Regions from separate parts of the Homo sapiens genome. Here regions 2, 3, 4, 5, 6 and 7 are each linked to region 1. Evidence: promoter capture Hi-C in 16 types of primary human blood cells and fetal thymus (Javierre and others, 2016). All regions are on one chromosome and are shown on one strand. The core of a region is centred on a gene start or on the middle of the fragment in contact, and the rest is flanking DNA. Distances in the headings are between cores, read along the strand shown. Region 1 holds the start of OR1A2 (olfactory receptor family 1 subfamily A member 2). Region 2 overlaps TRPV1 (transient receptor potential cation channel subfamily V member 1). Region 3 holds the start of TRPV3 (transient receptor potential cation channel subfamily V member 3). Region 4 overlaps TRPV3 (transient receptor potential cation channel subfamily V member 3). Region 5 overlaps TRPV3 (transient receptor potential cation channel subfamily V member 3). Region 6 overlaps ASPA (aspartoacylase). Region 7 overlaps SPATA22 (spermatogenesis associated 22).

Region 1 (2,904 bases), core at 164-2,663:
AAAATACTAAAAAAGTAAGTGATATGTTAACACAGCTTTTGCCACCAGAGTACAAGTATAGTAGGGGTGGCTAGACATAAAAGTCCAGTAAAGATTACATTAGAATAGTAATTTGCAGCCTTCAAAGCATGAGCCATTTTGATATACACAAGCTGTGTCAGAGAGTCCGGCAGATATTATTTTCCTAACATGTAGATATGCAAGCTGAGACTCAGACTTTTTCAACTTTACTCTGCTAGTAAATTTCTGCTAACTGGGACATGAACCTGATATTCCCAGCCTGCCACTCTCTCAAAAAAGAGCAGGAATTTGTCCAAAGTGATAATTTCAATAAAATATCACATCCGTTACAAGATTTCTGGTAGAGGAATTTCTGGCTCAAAAGAACAAAAGGAGCTTCTTGAAGGGCAATGACATTGGAGCTGGATTTCCAAGTGTATCCCACTTGGTCATTACAGTATCCAGCGTGTAATCTCACAGCGGCTATGAGGAGATTCTCTTGCTGAAGAGTTTCTGTAGGGCTGCCTTCATATCCCAATTTCTCAGACTATAGATGAAAGGATTTAATGCTGGGGTCACTGCCACATACATCACAGTTATCACTGCATCTTTGGGGCTGTAACTGGTCAGAGGGCGGAAATACATGCCCATCGTTGTACCATAATATAAAAAAACAACTGTGAGGTGGGAGCCACAGGTGCAGAAGGCTTTGAATAGACTCTTGGTAGATGGAACTTGGAAGACTGTGGAAAAGACCTGAACATAGGAGACAATGATGCATAGTAATGGCAAAGAGAAAACGCCGACCCCTAGGTACATCATCTTCACATTAAAGTGGACGTCAGAACAGGACAACTTCAGCAAAGGCATAATGTCACAGTAGAAATTGGCTACTTCCTGGTTGCCACAGAAGGACAAACTAGCTGTGAGCAGAGTGTGGGGGAGAGCACTGGTGTTTCCAATCACCCAAGACCCAGCAATAAGCAGGATACAAGACCGTGGACTCATAATTGTTGTGTAATGAAGTGGGCAGCTGATGGCCACAGCTCGATCGTATGCCATTGCAGCCAAGGTATAGCTGTCTGCCTTGGCCAAGGCTATCATGAAATACATCTGCATTAGGCATCCCCCAAAGGAGATGAACTTGCTCCCCAAGAGATGGTTGGCCAGCACCTTAGGGATGGTTACGGATGAGAAGATGATGTCAACCAAGGAGAGGTTGGCAAGGAGAAAATACATGGGGTTGTGAAGGCGAATGTCAGCACAGATGGCCAAGATGATGAGCAGATTTCCAGTCAGTGTGATGGGGTAAATGCACAAAAAAATCACAAAGAAGACATTATTCTGTTCTTGCTGACTAGTAACTCCCAGGAGAATAAAATCCAGGTTAAAGGATTGATTTTCTTTCTTCATGGCTTCTTCAGCATGAAAGGGGAGAGGAACCCAGAATTATTAGCGCAGTTAGTGTGTGTTATAGTCTGCCTTATCTACCACTTAAACGTTTTTAATTATTTTACAAATTCACCTGCTGTCAAACTTATCCACCACTTTTCATTAGCCATGGCTATACCTGGTTTTTACAATCATAAATATAGCCAGCACTTTTGGGTAAAATCTCTGTTGGTCAATGGGACGAACTCTCATTGACCTCCTGGACACTCATGTCAAAGAAGTTAGCGATCTGTGAAGTAAAGATGGTTGTCCTTCCAAATGTAGCACCACCACCTTAATATCTATAATTTAATCACATAACAAAAACCTAATTTCATGTTTCATGTCTTAGATTTTTTTTTACTTTGTAGAGAAACAATAAATATGTGAAAATACAGTTATTCATCCACTTATTTGTTACACAAGACATAGCATCTGTTCTCAAGGACCTTATAATTGAATAGGAAAGCCAGACTCACACAATAATTTTATTACACATGGTAAGAAAAGGATAGCCTCTTGGAGTCCTTGTGAAAAAAACAAACAAAAAATCCTCCAGTGCAAAGGATGTATCATAGTAGGAATGCAGTGAACAATTTAAAGTTGTTCCTCCAACCAGTCTCGGGGTGAGCCCAGAGCCCAGGAAGTCAGAGGTGTCTACACTGCCATCAGATTCTAAAACAGAAAGACAACTGGCATTAGGTCCTAGAAAAACAAGCTCAGTGAACTTACTCCACAGGTGTTCGATTTTCAAAGATATTCCCTATCTTTTTGACAGCTTTTCTCTCTTTTCAAAGCCCATAACTATACATAATCACAGTGCTTTTTCCACTGGCCTTTGTCTTGGTTCATTTTGTGTTGCTATAACAGAATACTTGAGACTGGGGAATTTATAAGAAAAGAGGTTGAATTGTCTCATGGATCTGTAGGCTGGGACATTCAAGAGCGTGGCCCTGGCTTCTGGCAAGGGCTTTCTTGCTGCATCATAACCTGTCAGAGAAGGTCAACAGGGAAGTGGATACAGGGGAAGAGAGAAAACCCGAGAAGTATACTGGTTTTATCACAACCCACTCCTGTAGGAACATTCCCTTAAGATTAATCCAGTCTTGAGAGAATGAGAACACACTTACTACCATGAGAACAGCACCAGACCACTCATGAGGGATCCACCCCCTTGACTCAAACGCTTCCCACTAGGCTTTACCTCCCAACACCTCCCACACTGGGGATCACATTTCAACATGAGTTTTGGTGAGGGCAAACTCAATCCATAGCAGTCTTCTCTTCCTTGTCTTCCTTATTTCTTTTTGTAGTAATCCAAGTCCACAGTGGATTCAACTATTCTTTAGTAAACTGTCATGTCTGTATCTGTGGTCTCGATTTCTTTTTCCCATATTTCCATATTCAGTCATCCTGCTAACATGTCTGACCAAACCCCACACTCTGCACTTAAAACCTAAGTAGTTTGCAAGA
Region 2 (2,904 bases), core at 171-2,670, 390 kb before region 1:
TGGAGCCTGCCTGTAATCCCAGCTACTCAGGGAGGCTGAGACAGGAGAATCGCTTAAACCTTGGAGGCAGAGGTTGTGATGAGCTGAGATGGCACCACTGCACTCCAGGCTGGTCAACAAGAGTGAAACTCTGTCTCAAAAAAAAAAAAAGAAAAATCACGCAGGAATTTGGGCTCGGGACAGGGCTCACCCCTGGCCTGGGGGTCCCCAGGGATGTGGGCTGGTGTCTAAGCCCAGAGCCCACCATCATCCTGCTTGCCTGCCCTCTTTCATTCACTCACTTGCTCATTATTCATTCCCTGGATTTAGACTTTTGAGCAGCTCTGTGCCAGGCCCTGGGCCATCCATCAAATCAGCCTAAGACCAGCCTTTTTCCTCTGCCAAGAGCCAAGACTTCATCAAACTTCTGGACTTAGTCCTTCGTGTCTGATACCCAGGACACTTAATTTGCTGCTTTTGTTTCCAGGGCACTTTACAAGTTTACTTACTTACTTAATTTTTGTTTTTTTGAGATGGAGTCTCGCTCTATCACCCAGGCTGGAGTGCAGTGGCGCAATCTCTGCTCACTGCAACCTCCACCTCCCGGGTTCAAGTGACTCTTCTGCCTCGGCCTCCCGAATAGCTGGGACTACAGGCACCCACCAACATGCCAAGCTTATTTTTATATTTTTAGTAGAGATGGGATTTCACCGTATTGGCCAGGCTAGTCTTGAACTCCTGACCTCAAGTGATCGCCTGCCTCGGCCTCCCAAAGTGCTTGGATTACAGGTGTGAGCCACCGTGCCCGGCTGCACATTTACTTTAAAAACTCAACTTCATAATTGCATGAAACCCGATTTCTGTCCACCTATTAAGGCCACATAATGACTTCCTTTTTTTTTTATTTTATTTTTTTTTTTTTTGAGACAGAGTCTCTCTCTGTTTTCCAGGCTGGAGTGCAGTGGTGTGATCTCAGCTCACTGCAAGCTCTGCCTCCTGGGTTCACGCCATTCTCCTGCCTCAGCCTCCCTCTTTTTTTTTGTTTTTTGTTTTTTGTTTTTTGAGACAGAGTCTCGCTCTGTTGCCCAGGCTGGAGTGCAGTGGCGCCACCTTGGCTCACCGCAACCTCTGGCTCCGGGGTTCAAGTGATTCTTCTGTCTCCCAAGTAGCTGGGATTACAGCCATGAGCTACCACGCCTGGCTAATTTTGTATTTTTAGTAGAGATGGGGTTTCTCCATGTTGGTCAGGCTGGTCTCGAACTCTCGACCTCAGGTGATCCGCCCGCCTCGGCCTCCCAAAGTGCTGGGATTACAGGCGTGAGCCACTGCACCCGGCCAGTGACTTCTTTTTAAGAGAAAAATGTGCTGGTAAGGCAAGCTGATGAACTAGTGCTTAGGAAATGTGGATGGTGACCCACTCCAGGAAATGGCCACTGAAATACAAGGGTGACACCCACAAGTGTGTGTGGCACAGTCTCTCCCTCCATGGTCAGTGGGAGTCCCTGACACTCGTGGGAGACTGGCCATGGGCTGGGGTGGCAGCGGGATGTGTATGGCGTGGGGTCCATGAGAGTGCTTCCACCTCTCCATCACCCTGCTGTCCATCACTCTGCTCCCAGCCAGGAGGAGCTCTGGGCCTGCCGGGACATTGCTTGGGAGGCGGCACAGCATTGTAAGATGCTCCGCTTGGCACCTGCAGGCTGCCACTTTGGGGAATCAGGCCCACAGAGGGGCCTCCTTGCGGGCGCTCCCCTAATAACACACTGTCTTTGTGTGTCCTTCCCCTGATGGAGGCTGTGCCTCCTGGGCAGGGACTATGGCTTCATGGACCTGGTCCATGTTTGTTGAATGAACGAATGAGTAAATGGAGTTACCAACTTCTCTGCATCTCACAGCCTCCCTTTAAGATGGAAAAAACTGGAGACTATTTCCGAGTTACTGGAGAGATCCTGTCTGTGTTAGGAGGAGTCTACTTCTTTTTCCGAGGGGTAAGCGTTCCTTCCCACATTGTGAGTTTCCATTATCACCAAAACAAAAAGCCAAGAAGATCCCTCAGCGCTCACTCACTTTTTAATTCATCAGACACATCATAGCCCTACTTGGGGAGCTGAGAGACGCAGAGGTGAAGATGAGAGCCCTTCAGTCAGTCACCGCGGGGCGGGAGGGTGCTCAGGGCGTCTCCACAGGCCCAAGGCAGGCAAGCTTGAAAGTAGACACTCCAGCCACTCCACGGAACGGAGTATTTGATTACAGGGGCAGAGTGGAGGCCTCTTAAGTGATAGGATCATGACTGGTAGTTTTTTAATTAAACCAATCTGTTAAAGCTCTGAGCAGTGAAGGAAATCTCCTTGCATACTGGAATCTTTTTTTTTTTTTTTTGAGGTGGAGTTTCGCTTTGTCATCTAGGCTGGAGGCTAGTGGCACGATCTCGGCTCACTGCAACCTCCGCCTCTTGGGTTCAAAAAATTCTCCTGAGTAGCTGGGATTACAGGCGCCTGCCACCACAGCCGGCTAATTTTTTTGTATTTTTAGTAGAGGTGGGGTTTCACCATGTTGGCCAGGCTGGTCTCGAACTCCTGACCTCAGGTGATCCACCTGCCTCAGCCTCCCAAAGTGCTGGGATTACAGGCGTGAGCCACCACACCAGCAAGGAATTGTTTTATTTTTAACCTGAAACTCAAACATGTGCAATCCTTGGCCATTTTTTTTTTTTTTAATGCAGGAGTAATCTTTTCTTTGAATGTGGGACTCACTGTTTCAGATTTTACATCACCTTTCTTGCAAAAACCATATTTATATAATCTAAGATTTCTAGTTTCAGCTTCTTTAAAGAAGAGTGAGAACTTAGCTGCGTACAAAAAAGTCTGAATGTAGAATTTGAGATGATCATTGGTTTTTGTTTTTGTTTTTTTTGACTCTGGAAAC
Region 3 (2,904 bases), core at 405-2,904, 360 kb before region 1:
GTGGGCTCTCACCATGTGCTGGGTTAAATGGGGTTGAATATAGACCATCTAAGGGGCTGAAGCTGCTGCTTCTGTGTGTTTGGGGTGGGATTAGGATGGGCTCGGGCTTCCTAAGTAGTGACTGTGACTCCACTGGGTGACCTGGCTCCTGCTGCCTCTCATAGCAGAGCGGGGGTCCCCTTCTTCCTTGCTGGGCACAGGGCACACCTCTGGGTGGGAGACAGGGGCCTTTTTCACCAGCTCCCACCTGCCCTCTGAGAAAAGTTATGAACACGAGCAAAATGGAAGCACTGACATTTGGCAGCAGCTTCCTCCCCAGGCGTCTGAGCCGCCAGAGGCAAACAGGGAGGGCGCGGGGCTGGGTCGGGAGAGGGTGAGTAAGCTAGTGGCCGGAGGCCGTGCTCAACCCCAGATCGGGCTTTTCCGGTCGAGTTTCAGGCACAGTCATGAGATTTCAGATTGTGAGTGGGAACTTCAGGACCCCCTGACTTCAACGGCAGAAGCGGTCTCCTGCTTCACCCACACCCTCAAGTCTGGTCTGCCCCTTACCGGCCATAGGTCCTGCTCTCCCGTGGCCTAGAAGCCTCACCTGCCTCCTGCCTCCTCCCCAGGCCAGGCAGGTTGTGATGATGAGGGATTGAGAGGCTCACAGCTGGGGATTTCCCTGCCCATCAGGCGCCAGCTGCGGCCGCGTCAGCAGAGACTTCCTGCTCTGTCCCAGCTGTGTCTTGTCCACATCTCGCCCCGGGGAGCAGGTGTGCAGTTCCTGAGTGACGCGAGACACACACGGCCATCCTGACTCACTCCACCCACTTCACAGCTGCAGCCTGGGCCAGGAGAGAGGGCACCGATTCCTTCTATGACGCCCTGGCCTTGGAGAAGGGCAACCTGGGCAGTTGCTGGGAGAATACATTGAGATGACAAAAGCAATCATAGCTAAGAGCTGACATTGTTTATTGAGTTCTTGCCGTGCCCTGGGCCTTGTTCTGGCCCTTTCTACTTGTACTTGTTGAAGCCCCACGATAACCTTGCAAAGTGGGTTTATGAAGCACGTTTCACAGATGAGGAGACTGAGGCTCGGAGAAATGACCTGCTAAGGTCATTCAGCCAGGAAGGGGTGAGGCTGACACTAAGGGCCATGATGCGTGACTGCTGGTGGACAGCATTAAATGGGGACTTCCGTCCCCGAGAGACCTGATCCCAGGAACCGACTTTTGAGAACAAGTGCCGAGTCTTGGGGCTGGCCACCCTGAGGTCAACCAGGCTAGGCCTGGGCTGCGGTCTTCCCTCCCAGGGGACAGAGCAGAGCGCTTGACTCTTCACTAGGCCCTCCCACCTCTGTGATCTCTTTGGCTCTTCACGGCTCCCTTGGAAAGTAGATGTTATCATTCCCATTTCCTAGTTGGAAAAATAGGCCTGAGATGGGCAGTCCCTGCCCAGCATGGAATGCCAGAGAGGGAGGAGTTGGACCCACAACTTCGATCTTGGCACCTGCGGCCTCCCCTGCCTTTTCTCCGGTGGGGATGAGGCTGCTGTGTGGGTGTGGGGGTGACTCACACGGGCCACGTGGGTGGGCGGGTGCTGCAGCTGTGGCTGGTGGGCGTGGCCTGCCTGGCGCCGAGGGCAGGTGGCTCAGCCAGTTCTGCCTCTGACGCCTCATTCCAGCCATCCCTCTGCCTGCAATGAGAGCTTCCCGCCGCCTCAGCCACAGTCCCACCCGGGGGCCTTGGGCCCCAGACATGCGGTGATCTCAGGGCAAGGGTTGCCACGACCACCCAGAACCTCACCAGGTGAGTCTTCTGTGCACAAGGCAGCTGGTGATCTCCAAGGCCCCTGGGGAGCCCAGAGCGTGGCCCTCAGAGGTCCTCTGGGCCATGTCTGCCCTTGGCCAATAGGCCTTGGGAGGAGGGTTGGAAGGAGCTTGGGCCCCAGCCAGGGGCCCACTCTTGGCTGTAGGGAGGCACTCTTGGCTGCACTCTTGGCTGTAGGGATGTGTGAGAATATAGGTCCTTACAGACTCAGGAACATTCCCCTGAGGTTTGGGAATCCTGGGGAGGGACATCTCAATCTCACCACTGCTGGGGGCAGAGGAGAGGCTCCTGCCTCCCGAGGCTGACCCAGGGAGGTGGCTTTCTGGGGCAGGATTGTGATGGGAGTTCAGGATGGGAGGAGGTGGCCCCACCGTGGGAGACAGACGGGGCCCAGGCATCTCACAGGTGCTGAGTCAGCAGCTGTGGCTCCGCGGCCTGGTCTGTCGCCCGGGAAAGGCCATTTCAATCAGTGTCAGGGATTGGGAGAGAGAGGGAGGGCCAGGGCAACAAGAGAGTCCAGCAGGTGAGAACGTGGGGTTTACGGGGTGACTCAGGGAGCTAATGATAGCTGCTGCGGCCCTAGTCCAGAGTTCCCTGAGCCTCTCCTGCCCCAGAGGCCCAGGGCAGGCCACATTCTCGGGCCCAGAGAAGAGAGAGAGCAACCAGCTCTCAGGGCCACAGAGTCCTTGGGGACCATTCAGCCCACTTCTCAGAAAGGAAACCAGAGGCCCTGGGAGGGGCAAGAGACGTGCCCTTCTTCTGTCTCCTTCACGCTCGGTGCATCCCAGCCTTTTAGTCCACCAAAGGCCACGTGGGGATGGGGAAAGCCATAGAGGCTGCCCATCCTCATCAGGCCGTGACTGGACACGGGAGGGCCGGGTGCCCAGGAGTCCCTCTCTGTGGGCTACTCCACCTGCCTGGCCTCAAGGTTGCCTACGCTCCAGGGCCAAAGCTCTCCCTCGCCGATGCCTCCTCCATCCTGAGCCTGCTCCCTTTGAGTTGGAGGGCGGGGGACTCTCTCCAGCCTGATGACACCTGGCTCCGGAAACTTCCTCCAGGAAGCTTTCCTATTGGGGTAGGATCACCAGTGGCC
Region 4 (2,904 bases), core at 140-2,639, 340 kb before region 1:
ATTCTTCCACACTCTGGGCAGGACCCAAGGTGACCACTCTGATTGTCCACTCTAAAGTTTCCCTTCCCCAGTCACTTTCTGTCACCCTATCTTCATTTATTTTCATAGCATTTTTTTGTATCTAAAATAACCTTATTTAGAGCAATGACTTTGTTTATTTATTTATTTATTTATTTATTTATTTATTTTTTGAGATGGAGTTCCGCTGTGTCACCAGGCTGGAGTGCAGTGGCACAACCTCTGCCTCCCGGGTTCAGGTGATTCTCCTGCCTCAGCATCCCAAGTAGCTGGGACTACAGGCAACTGCCTCACCTCTCTGAGCCTCAGTTTCCCCACTGGGCAAGGGCGAATATTTCCTCCCTATGCTGCTAAGAGGAACCAATCACAACTTTATTCATATCATTTTAAAGCATTTTATCAGAGGCCTTCAGAGTTTTACTTTTTTAAGCAATTCTTCAATTAAGACATTTTTATTATAAAAATTTTAAACATGAAGTTAAGATATTAGAATAATAAACCTCTACACATCCATCATCAGATTCAATATAACAGTTTCTTTTTATTATTTTACTTTATTTTATTTTATTATTGTTTTTGAGACAGGTTCTCACTCTGTTGGGCAGGCTGGAGTGCAGTGGCGCGACCACGACTCGCTGCAGCCTTGACCTCCCTGGGCTCAGGTAATTTTCCCACCTCAGCCTCCCGAGTAGCTGGGACTATAGATGCGTGCCACCCCGCCCAGCTAATTTTTCTATTTGTTGCAGGGATAGGGTTTCACCATGTTGCCCAGGCTGGTCTGTAACTCCGGGGCTCAAGCAATCCTCCCGCCTCTGCCTCTCAATGATGGGATTATAGGCGTGAGCCACCGCACCCAGCCTAACAACATCCACGTCACATGAATAGAGTTTCATTGTAAAGCAGCCCAGCATTTTACATACTTTTTTTTTTTTTAAGTCCTTTACCCATATACTTTGTGGAGTTTTCTAGGCCTTTGACATTTGTGTGTGTATATGTGCACACAGAAAAAGTTTTATTTATTTAACATAAAATATTATCATACTGTCTGTATTCTACAAGTTGGTTTTTTTGATTAACTATTAACCATATGTCTTGGAGCACTTCTTATGCCAAAATATGAAAGTCTAGCTTCTTTTCACCAGATTCGTCTGCAATTGCGGCTGCACCTTGGCTAATTTCACCACTCCCCCACTGACAGACAGTCAGGTGTTTCCAGCTGTGTTGTGACAATGTCACAGTGCACGATCTTGTCTATGACCCTGTGCACAGGTGCACATATGTTTCAGAAAATATTTTGAATTGGAATATCTGGGTTCAACCGCATGCATATTTAAAGTTATAATAGTGGCCAGGCGCAGTGGCTCATGCCTGTAATCCCAGCACTTTGGGAGGCCAAGGCAGGTGGATCACTTGAGGTCAGGAGTTCCAGACCAGCCTAGCCAACATGGTGAAAACCCATCTCTACTAAAAATACAAAAACTAGTAGGGCGTGGTGGGGCACGCTTGTAATCCCAGCTACTTGGGAGGCTGGGGCAGGAGGATCACTTGAACCTGGGAGGCGGAGGTTGCAGTGAGCCGAGATCGCGCCACTGCACTCCAGCCTGGGCAACAGAGGGAGACTCCATCTCAAAAAAAAAAATTTTTTTTTAAATAAATAAAATAAAGTTATAATAGTTATTGCCAAATTTGTCTCTAAAAGATACTCATTTACTCTCTCCCCACAACGGTGTACAGAAATACTCATTCTCCTACTTATCACTAACACTGCAAATTATCCTTTTTTTTTTTTTTTTGTTCTTTTCCAGTCTGGTGGGTGAAAAGGGTTAACTCTTTAGGTTCTAATTTTCATTTTCCTGACCACCAGTGATTCCAAACATCTTTCACTTTGTTTATTCACTGTGTGTATTTTCTCCTCTGTGAGGTGCTTGTTTATAATCTTTTCTCAGTTTTCTTTTAGACTGTTTGTCTTTCTATTGATTCATAGGCGCTTGTAATATATTATAGACTTTTAAAAACACAATGCCTTTCTATTTTTTTTTTGAGACGGGGTCTTGCTCTATTGCCCAGGCTGGAGTGCAGTGGCATGCTCACTGCAAGCTCCACCTCCCGGGTTCACACCATTCTCCTGCCTCAGCCTCCCGAGTAGCTGGGACTACAGGCACTCACCATCACGCCCGCCTAATTTTTTGTATTTTTAGTAGAGACAGAGTTTCACCAGGTTAGCCAGGATGGTCTCGATCTCCTGACCTCGTGATCTGCCCGCCTCAGCCTCCCAAAGTGCTGGGATTACAGGTGTGAGCCACCGTGCCTGGCATGCCTTTTTTTTTTTTTTTTTTTTAAAAAGACAGAGTCTTGCTCTCTAGCCCAGGCTGGAGTACAGTGGCGCGATCTCTGCCTCCTGAGTTCAAGTGATTCTCCTGCTTCAACCTCCTGAGTAGCTGGGACTACAGGTGCCCGCCACCACACTTGGCTAATTTTTTTGTATTTTCAGTAGAGATGGGGTTTCTCCATGTGGGCCAGGCTGGTCTCGAACTCCTGACCTCAAGTGATCCACCCGCCTCGGCTTCCCAAAGTGCTGGGATTACAGGTGTGAGCTACCGCGCCCGGCCCTAAAACACATTGCCTTTTTATATATCTCAAATATTTTCCCCAGCCTATCACTTGTCTTTAACTTTCATTAGGATGCATTCGGAAATACAGAAATCTCCGAGGTAGGGGGATTGCTTGAGCCCAGGAATTCAAGACCAGCCTGGGCAACACAGCAAGATCCTGTCTCTACAAAAAATTTTAAAAATAAGCCGGGAGTGGTGGTGCAGGCCTGTAGTCCACACGTGTGTGTGTATATATGTACACAGAAATAGTTTTATTTACTTATCTAACATAAAA
Region 5 (2,904 bases), core at 257-2,756, 320 kb before region 1:
TGTACAATGTGAGGATTTGATATAGGTATATATTGTGAAATGATTTCCAATTTCCAATTAACACACCCATCACCTCACATAGTTGCCATTTCTTTGTGTGTGGTGAGAACATTTATGATCTATTCTCTTAGCAAATTTCTAGTACACAACACGGTATTGTTCACTATAGTCATCATGCTGTCCATTAGATCCCCAGAACTTATTCATCTTATTCATTGATTTAGTTCTGAATAATGGCTGTGTTTAACAACCAGCTCACAAGCTTCATGAGAATTTAACGATCAGCTCTTGCGAGCTCTTCTGAGCTGGCTCCAGCATGCCACTGCCCCCAGCAAGTGTGAGGATTCCAGTGTGAGACCCTATGGTGAAAGGTACAGGGTGAATCACAGGGAGAAGAGAACCTGGGGCTGGAGCAGAAACAGAAGGCTTCCTGGAGGAGGCAGGATCCAGTGTTGAGCCTTGGAGCATCAGGAGGATTTGGCTGGGGGAAGGGAGAGTGGCCCAAGTGAAGAGACAGTTAGGGTGGGGGGTGGGAGAGGGTGGGAAGCAGGAAGATCAGGGTGCCGTGAATATGTGCTTGCACCTTACACTTGAATTATGTTTATTTCCTTATAGGTCATTTTGCATGATGTTCTGAAGTTCTTGTTTGTATATATCGTGTTTTTGCTTGGATTTGGAGTAGGTAATTGATTTATAAATAATAGTAACTCCCACATTTATAAACACTTTATACAGATGTCAAAATGGCAAAGTGCATGGCGGCCTTGGCAACAATTAGACCAACTACCAGTGGGGCACTTGCCATGCTTGGCATTTTCCAAGCATTACCTTTATATATATACATATATATTTTATTATACTTTAAGTTCTAGGGTACATGTGCACAACATGCAGGTTTGTTACATATGTATACATGTGCCATGTTGGTATGCTGCACCCATTAACTCGTCATTTACATTAGGTATATCTCCTAATCAAGCATTACCTTTTTACTTCTCTCAACAACTTGATCAAGTGGGAATCATCACCCCGATCATAAGGTAACTGAGGCTTAGAGACTCCAGGATTCAAACCAGGCCAGCCACTCATAATCCAACTTCACCATGTGGTATATACCTCTGGCTTTCCCATTCATTGCTTACGTGGCCCTCACGACCTAAGATAGGTTCTGCAAGTGTTTTCAGCCCCATTTTAACAGATGCGGAAACTAAAGTCCACAGAAACTCAACTGATGGTCTTTGCAAAGTAGGAGCAAACTAATACCCTGAGGTGATTTCCTTTGGATTTCACATCACGTTACTCTCACAGTTTGCTTTAGATACAACTGTGAGAGCCTCTCTGGTCTGCTGGGACCAGGAAGGAGCCCCCTCTTAAAATCTCTCCATTTACAACAGAGGGAACAGCACGATCTGGTTGTATTTCTAACCTCTGCATAGAGAGATATCATTTTCCCCCACGTACCAGTTGCTTTTTTTTCTTTTCTTCAGTGACCATTGACATTTGAAATTAAGTAGCTGTTTCCATCTGTCTGGTACCTTTTCTGGGTCACAATTTGCTTATTTATTTGCTCCTTCACCTGCTTGTTTATTCATCCATCTATTTACTCTCTCATTTAATTTGCTCATCCACCTGTCTATCCGTCCATCCATCCATCCATCCATCCATCCATCCATCCATCCAATCATTCATCCATCGATCCATCCATTGATCTATCCATCTATCCATCCATCCATCCATCCATCCATCCATCTAATCATCCATCCAATCATCCATCCATCCATCCATCCATCCATCCATCCATCCAGTCATCCATCCATTCATCCATTTAATCATCCATCCATCGATCAATCGGTCCATCCATCCAGCTATCCATCCATCCATCCATCCATCTAATCATTCATCCATCAATCCATCCATCCATCCATCCATCCATCCATCCATCCATCCATCTATCCATCCATCCAATCATCCATCCATCCATCGATCAATCAGTCCATCCATCCATCTAATCATCCATCTAATCATCCATCCATCCATCCATCCATCCATCCAGTCATCCATCCATTCATCCATTTAATCATCCATCCATCCATCGATCAATTGGTCCATCCATCCATCTATCCATCCATCCATCCATCCATCTAATCACCCATCCATCCATCCATCCATCCAATCATCTATCCATCCATCCATCTAATCATCTATCCATCCATCCATCCATCCATCCATCCAATCATCCATCCATCCATCCATCCATCCCTCCATCTAATCATCCATCCCTCCATCCATCCCTCCATATCCATCCATCCATCCATCCATCCATCCATCCAACCATTCAGCAGTGAACCTCTACTGTGGTGTGTTGGAAAGAAGGGAAGTGTGAGCCTGGTCTTGCTCACAGGGAACTCAAAACAGAGCATTAGGAGGAGACTCAGGATCTTACAGCCTTGAGGGAGGTGACCCAGGCTAGAGGAAGTCAGGAGCTCAAAGACTAGCTGGGGAGCCAGGGACACACACATGGATTATAATTAGTGGCTCTGCAAGGCTGCAAGTGATCAAGGGCAGACTGCGGGGTAAAGGAAGGAGAGAAGACTCTGGGCTTTGTTAGGTGGAAGGGCTTTCTGCAGGAGGCCAGGCCAGAGAAGCCAGCCTGATGAGGCTTTGAGAGGACCTGAAACTGGAGATGGGATTTAATGGCCAGAGAGAAGGAGGCAGCAGGCTTGTCATGTAGGCAAATACACGCAAGCTTGTAGAGTAATTACCAGGCAGAGAGCTGAGGAGAGCACCCTGTTATGTTCCCTTAGCCTTGGCCTCGCTGATCGAGAAGTGTCCCAAAGACAACAAGGACTGCAGCTCCTACGGCAGCTTCAGCGACGCAGTGCTGGAACTCTTCAAGCTCACCAT
Region 6 (2,904 bases), core at 223-2,722, 300 kb before region 1:
ATTTTTTTCTTCCTTTCTTTTTTTTCTTTTTTCTCCCCTCCCCCAGCCTGAAATGTATTTCTTAAATAGTTAGATTTGAAAGTCACAATGACGCCTTGATCCATGGGCTTCGGCTGGATGTCGTGGTAGCAGGCGCGAAAACAATGCTAATCTCTTCGCACATCTCCAGCAGAGCTCTTGGGTAACATGGTGTATTGTCAATCAGCAGTAGTATTTTGAAAGGAATTTTTTTTTTTCCCAAGCAGTAGGTCTCAACAGTGGGCTTAAAATATACAGTAAACCATGCCGCAAACAGATGTGCTGCCAGCGAGGCTTTGTTGTTCCATTTATAGAGCTCAGACACAGCAGGTTTAGCATCAGTCTTCAGAGTCCTACGATTTTTGGGCCGGGCGTGGTGGCTCATGCCTGTAATCCCAGCACTTTGGGAGGCCGAGGCAGGCGGATCATGAGGTCAGGAGATCGAGACCATCCTGGCTAGCAGAGTGAAACCCCATCTCTACTAAAAAAATGCAAAAAATTAGCCGGGCGTGGTGGCAGGCACCTGTAATCTCAGCTACTGGGGAGGCTGAGGCAGGAGAATGGCATGAACCTGGGAGGCGGAGCTTGCAGTGAGCCGAGATTGCGCCACTGCACTCCAGCCTGGACGACAGAGCAAGACTCCGTCTCAAAAAAAAAACAAAAAACAAGAGTTTTAGGATTTTTGAAACAGTTAATGAGCTTTGGCTTTAACCCAAAGTCACCAGCTGTGTTAGCTCTTAAGAGAGTCAGGCTGTCCTTTGAAGCTTTGAAGCTAGGCATTCATTTCTCCCCTCTAGCTAGGAAAGTCCTAGATAGCATCTTCTTCCAATAGAAGGCTGTTTCAACTACACTGAAGATCCGTTGTTTAGTGTAGCCATCTTTGTCAATGATTTTAGCTACATCTTCTGGATAACTTGCTACAGCTTCCACATCAGCAACTTGCTGGTTCGCTTTCCACTTGTAGGTTTTAGAGCTGTCTTCTTTCCTTAAACCTTGTGAACCAACCTCTCCCAGCTTCCTGCAGCTTCCTCACCTCTCTCAGCCTTCACAGAATTGAAGAGAGTTAGGGCCTTGCTGTGGGTCATGCTTTGGCTTAATGTGTGGCTGGTTTGATCTTCTATCCAGACCACTAAAACTGTCTCCATATCAGCAATAAGGTTGTTTTGCTTTCTTATCATTTGTGTGTGTGCACTGGAGTAGAATTTTTAATTTTCTTCAAGATCCTTTTCTTTGAATTCACAACTTGGCTAACCAGTGCAAGAGGCCTAGCTTTCAGCCTGTCTCAGCTTTTGACATGCCTTCCTTACTAAGCTTAATTTCTAGAAGTATGACCCTTTCTTTCACTTGAACACACAGAGTCTGCTGTAGACTTATTAATTATTGTGTCTCAAGGAACAGGGAGGCCAGAGGACAGGGAGAGAGACAAGGAAATGGCCGGTCAGTAGAGCAGTTAGAACTCACACAACATTCACTAAGTTCGCAGTCTCACATGGGCACGATTCATGGTGCCCCAAAACACTTAACAACAGTAACATCAAAGGCCACTGATCACAGATCACCATAGCAGATATAATAAATAAATCATAAAAAAGCTTGAAATATTATCAAAGGGTGACACAGAGACAAGGAGTGAGCACATGCTGTTGGAAACATGGCACTGTTAGACTTTCTAGACACAGGGTTGCCAAAAACCTTCAATTTGGAAAAAAAGTACAAGTACAGTATCCGTGAAGTGTAGTAAGGCAAAGCACAATAAAACAAATAACTTTATATATATCTATTTCAATTTTATATTCTGAATACAAAGGCTGTTTATTAAGAATGTTGAGCTACCCAAGTATCATGTATAATAAACTATATAGAAATAGGAAACACTTCTTTGAATAAGCTACATACATAAAATATGATATCTTTAAAGATATATTAATTAATTTAAGAAATGTGCTTAGATGCCTACCGAATAAGGCACTGTGCTAGGAGCTATGTATGCAGTTGAATAAGGCACAACCCTACTCTTAAGGAGCTTACAGACTAGCAGAATTTGTAAGACACCGTGTAAGATGTAAGCTGGAAGTGATTTCTAATGTAAACAGCAGCGAATACTTTTTGCATTGAGCGTTAGTTTAGTTGTCTTTGCAAAAGCTTCTTTCTTTTCGTAATATGCGGCCTCATTCACAAACACGGGGTACACGGTACAGTCTCCGCCCAGTGGGATCGTCTTCCCATCAAGAGTTAAAAACATGGGATCCCCAGGATGCAGTGGTTTCCAGTCTTGATCCTCTCAGGAAACAATCAAAATAAATATATTATATTTGGTTTTTCTCCTCTAAAAATTTATGTCAGACTCTAGACAACTAACAAATTACAGTATTCTGTTGTTTTAAAAGAGATACTTGAGCGAGGCATTGAGATGCAGGCAAGTGATCTGACTGCGCTGACATTGGGTCGTGAATTTTGGCAGTAGTTTTAAGAGTTCCCCTTTGCATTTGTATAATTGAAACGTGTAATTAACATTTGCTTCAGCCAGGTGCAGTGGCTCCTTGCCTGTAATCCCAGCACTTGGGGAGGCCAATGTGGGTGGATCGCTTGAGCCTAGGAGTTCAAAACCAGCCTGGGCAACACAGAGATCCTATCTCTAGAAAAAATACGAAAAATTAGCTGGGTGTGGTGGTGCATGCCTGTAGTCCCAGATACTCAGGAGGCTGAGGTGGGAGGATTGCTCAAGCCCCCAGAGGTTGAGGCTACAGTGAGCTATGTTCACACCACTGCACTCCAGCCTGGGTGACAGAATGAAACCCTGTCTCTAAAAAAAAATAAAAAAGAGTTTGCTTCAATACCAGGTTTACCTTGAATGTAGCCAAAGAGATTTATAATATTAAAAGGCAA
Region 7 (2,904 bases), core at 130-2,629, 270 kb before region 1:
CAATTATTCTAGATATGAAGGGAGGACTTAGTCTTTTTTTTTTTTTTTTTTTTTTGAGATGGAGTCTGGGTCTTGTTGCCCAGGCTGGAGTGCAGTGGCACGATCTCAGCTCACTGCAACCTCGGCCTCTCGGGCTCAAGCGATTCTCCTGCCTCGGCCTCCCGAGTAGCTGGGATTACAGGCGCCCGCCACCACTCCTGGCTAATTTTGTATTTTTAGTAGAGATGGGCTTTTGCCATGTTGGCCAGGCTGGTCTTGAACTCCTGACCTCAGGAAGACTTAGTCTTTGATATTATATAATCCAGGCATTTCAAACTGATGCAAAGGCAGATGTCCTGCACAATGCCTTAAAGTGGGGCATGGAGGAAGTTCCCGGTGGCTAAATACTGTGTTTCCTCCTTGGCCTTGGAAGCATGTACGTTTGCCAACGCTGTGGTCCATTTTCCTCTTTGTAGGTGTGGTTCAGAATTCTCTTTGTGGGTGCGGGATTCTGAAATAAATTACATATACTGTGTGAAAAAATGCACATATGTTTACGAAGCAAGGTTACAGTTGCCCTAGTCATAACTTAATTTGAACAGGGTTGGAAAAGTGGATTATGGTGTAAACTCTTAGAAAGCAAAGGACTCCCTAAAGTGTTTACGTGATCAGGTTTGAAAGTAGTTTACAACCATAATTTCAGTAATCACTGGGCTGAGGATTGGGTTTTATAGTTGAGACAATACGAGTTATAAGTTTCTTTCTTTGCAGGTCTAGTGGGACAATGTCATATTATAAATTTGGAATGCTGAATAGAAAATTATAGATTTTGATATTGAAGGAAATGAAGCGAAGCCTAAATGAAAATTCAGCTCGAAGTACAGCAGGTATTGAACAACTTTTTATTTTTAAATTTTCTGTATAGCATATAAAGCTTGTATAGTTTATAGATATAACATTGGAAATAAATTTAAAATAGATTGAACAGTTAATCTAGCCTCTTTACTTTTTAGGTCCAAGGAAGTAAAATAACTTACTCAAGACAAAACATTTAGTGGTAGAGGTGGGAGTAAGATCAAAGTTTCTTAGATTTATTTTGATATTCTTTCTACAAATTCGATGTGCTTGAGTTATTCTATGCTTTAAAACTGAAAACAAAGAAATAGATCTATTTTTGTTTGTATTTGTGACTTACTTGTTAAAAATATTTCCGGAAGCACTTCTGTCTTTCTAATAGCTTCTCCTATCATTTTTGCTTTCCCAATTTATTAGTATAAAGACAGATGGCAAGGATGATGAGAACCAGGGGAATGATGATGCATAATGAAGATAATAGTAACTATTATTTATGGTGGATTAACTGTATTCAAGACATTAATTATATATATTAATTTATTTAATCTTTACACCAATACCCTGAGATAGGTTATTATAATCATTTCTGTTGTTCAGATGAGAAAAACAAGGCTAAAAGAGGTTAAATAAGTAATCCATGAAGTAGCAGAATCAGAATTTGAACCTAGGAATCTGGCTCTTAGTCCATGCTCTTAATCATTATGCTATCAGTATATGTCATATTGGCACAAAGAGTTTAGGGAAATTGCCCAAGATCATACTCTGAAATTGTAATTCAAACCTACTTTGAAGTCATAATTCAAGACCTAGGCGGTCTGATTCCAGAGCCCACATAATTCTCCCAGCCTTTCATCAGAGACTGTTCACAGAGTCTGTATTTGCCTGTAGAACAATTGATGATGACCAGTTAGAGAATGGTACAGTGGCAAGAGATCCAAACTGATATTTAGGAATCTTGTGTCCTATCTAGATTCTTCCACTGACTTGCTCTATAGCAATGCACAAGCTTTTTGAACTTCTTTTCCCTTCGAGTTCCCTAAGTTTCAAAGTTTATATTTTGTGACTTTTGACCTGAATTGAGATCCTAGATCCGCCATCTGGAGGAATCGGTAGTAGTATTTATTCTCATTTGGACTGGATATTATTACTCTTTAAGGCATTCTCAAAATGATCCACAAAATATATAATTACAGATACCCGAGGTGCTTGTTAAAATTGCAGAGTTTTGAGTTCCAGGCTAAATCTGTTGAAATAAAATCTATGAGAGTGGAGTCTAGGAACTGCACATTAAGCAGAATTCCAGATAAATCTTAGTCCAATGAAACTTTGAGAACCAAGGCCCAAAAGGGTGTGCCACTATTGTCCAAAGCATGGTTCAGAGTTTGGTTCTTCCTCACCTCTGTTGTACTTCAAAGGTCCCCTGCAGTCGATATGGTAACAGGCAAGCACAGGAGGGGGATAAGGAAAACAAAAAGTGGATTTGGAAAGGTTGGGGGATGAGGGGGGAGATGGGAATTACTTCCATATGGGAGGAATTAAAACTGTTAGAGTAGAATAAGAAAAGTTTTTTGAAGAAACAAATTAGGCTATTCAGGATCTTAAAAAGAATGTAAAAATCATTCTAAGGTTATAGAAATCTATAAGTATATTAGCATATAGAAGTAGATAAATGTAAAGTGTGTATTATACTAGTAATTATTTTACAACTAGATCTGCTTATTTGTCTATTATGTACTAATTTATTGGTACATTCAATTTAGGCTGTTTGCCTGTTCCGTTGTTCAATCAGAAAAAGAGGAACAGACAGCCATTAACTTCTAATCCACTTAAAGATGATTCAGGTATCAGTACCCCTTCTGACAATTATGATTTTCCTCCTCTACCTACAGGTAAGAAAATTAATAAGGTAAAAATTTTCAGGAAATACAAAACTAGGATTATAGAAAATTGTAATTTATATTATAATGAAAATAGAAAGTTTATTTTTTCTTCTTTCCATTATCCACATATAGAAATTACATAGCACTTTCTGAACATTCCAGGTCAGGAGTTTAAGTTTCCTTATCTACA

The links. Contacts are between HindIII fragments. The CHiCAGO score rates a contact against its expected background, and 5 or more counts as called.
Region 2: a contact is called between a fragment that was not itself captured here and the fragment with the promoter of OR1A2 in region 1, in 1 of 17 cell types (M1 macrophages). The highest score is 5.2, in M1 macrophages.
Region 3: the fragment with the promoter of TRPV3 here is called in contact with the fragment with the promoter of OR1A2 in region 1 in 3 of 17 cell types (M1 macrophages, neutrophils and M0 macrophages); the score reaches 7.6 in M1 macrophages.
Region 4: a fragment that was not itself captured here is called in contact with the fragment with the promoter of OR1A2 in region 1 in 3 of 17 cell types (M1 macrophages, M0 macrophages and M2 macrophages); the score reaches 9.2 in M1 macrophages.
Region 5: a contact is called between a fragment that was not itself captured here and the fragment with the promoter of OR1A2 in region 1, in 3 of 17 cell types (M0 macrophages, endothelial precursors and M2 macrophages). The highest score is 6.8, in M0 macrophages.
Region 6: a contact is called between a fragment that was not itself captured here and the fragment with the promoter of OR1A2 in region 1, in 6 of 17 cell types (M1 macrophages, endothelial precursors, M0 macrophages and 3 more). The highest score is 10.3, in M1 macrophages.
Region 7: a contact is called between a fragment that was not itself captured here and the fragment with the promoter of OR1A2 in region 1, in 5 of 17 cell types (M1 macrophages, M2 macrophages, M0 macrophages and 2 more). The highest score is 9.7, in M1 macrophages.

The regions. Positions count from the first base shown.
Region 1 is chr17:3,196,028-3,198,931 of GRCh38, reverse strand. OR1A2 (olfactory receptor family 1 subfamily A member 2) reads right to left here and starts at 1,413. Exons shown (of 1, transcript NM_012352.3): 1 at 484-1,413. The coding sequence starts at 1,413. The coding sequence ends at 484. The HindIII fragment of the contact is 7,515 bases long and covers 1-2,904 here.
Region 2 is chr17:3,582,401-3,585,304 of GRCh38, reverse strand. TRPV1 (transient receptor potential cation channel subfamily V member 1) reads left to right here. Exons shown (of 17, transcript NM_080704.4): 10 at 1,875-1,967. Among named protein-coding and RNA genes, the nearest start is that of TRPV1, 26 kb to the left of the region's middle. The HindIII fragment of the contact is 1,527 bases long and covers 657-2,183 here.
Region 3 is chr17:3,556,562-3,559,465 of GRCh38, reverse strand. It overlaps TRPV3 (transient receptor potential cation channel subfamily V member 3), which reads left to right and starts at 1,654. Exons shown (of 18, transcript NM_145068.4): 1 at 1,654-1,790. RefSeq lists enhancers at 1-637, 546-775, 806-855, 936-995, 638-1,454 and 2 more and a silencer at 2,636-2,695. The HindIII fragment of the contact is 5,895 bases long and covers 1-2,875 here.
Region 4 is chr17:3,537,345-3,540,248 of GRCh38, reverse strand. All of the region lies in intron 6 of TRPV3 (transient receptor potential cation channel subfamily V member 3), which reads left to right. Among named protein-coding and RNA genes, the nearest start is that of TRPV3, 19 kb to the left of the region's middle. The HindIII fragment of the contact is 3,774 bases long and covers 1-2,904 here.
Region 5 is chr17:3,518,751-3,521,654 of GRCh38, reverse strand. TRPV3 (transient receptor potential cation channel subfamily V member 3) reads left to right here. Exons shown (of 18, transcript NM_145068.4): 14 at 616-682; 15 at 2,805-2,904. Among named protein-coding and RNA genes, the nearest start is that of TRPV3, 38 kb to the left of the region's middle. The HindIII fragment of the contact is 2,484 bases long and covers 265-2,748 here.
Region 6 is chr17:3,498,283-3,501,186 of GRCh38, reverse strand. It overlaps ASPA (aspartoacylase), which reads right to left. Exons shown (of 6, transcript NM_000049.4): 6 at 1-2,296. The coding sequence ends at 2,099. It also overlaps a transcript of SPATA22 not described here. Among named protein-coding and RNA genes, the nearest start is that of ASPA, 24 kb to the right of the region's middle. The HindIII fragment of the contact is 281 bases long and covers 1,332-1,612 here.
Region 7 is chr17:3,467,245-3,470,148 of GRCh38, reverse strand. It overlaps SPATA22 (spermatogenesis associated 22), which reads left to right. Exons shown (of 9, transcript NM_001170698.2): 2 at 751-866; 3 at 2,595-2,723. The coding sequence starts at 824. Among named protein-coding and RNA genes, the nearest start is that of SPATA22, 3.1 kb to the left of the region's middle. The HindIII fragment of the contact is 927 bases long and covers 916-1,842 here.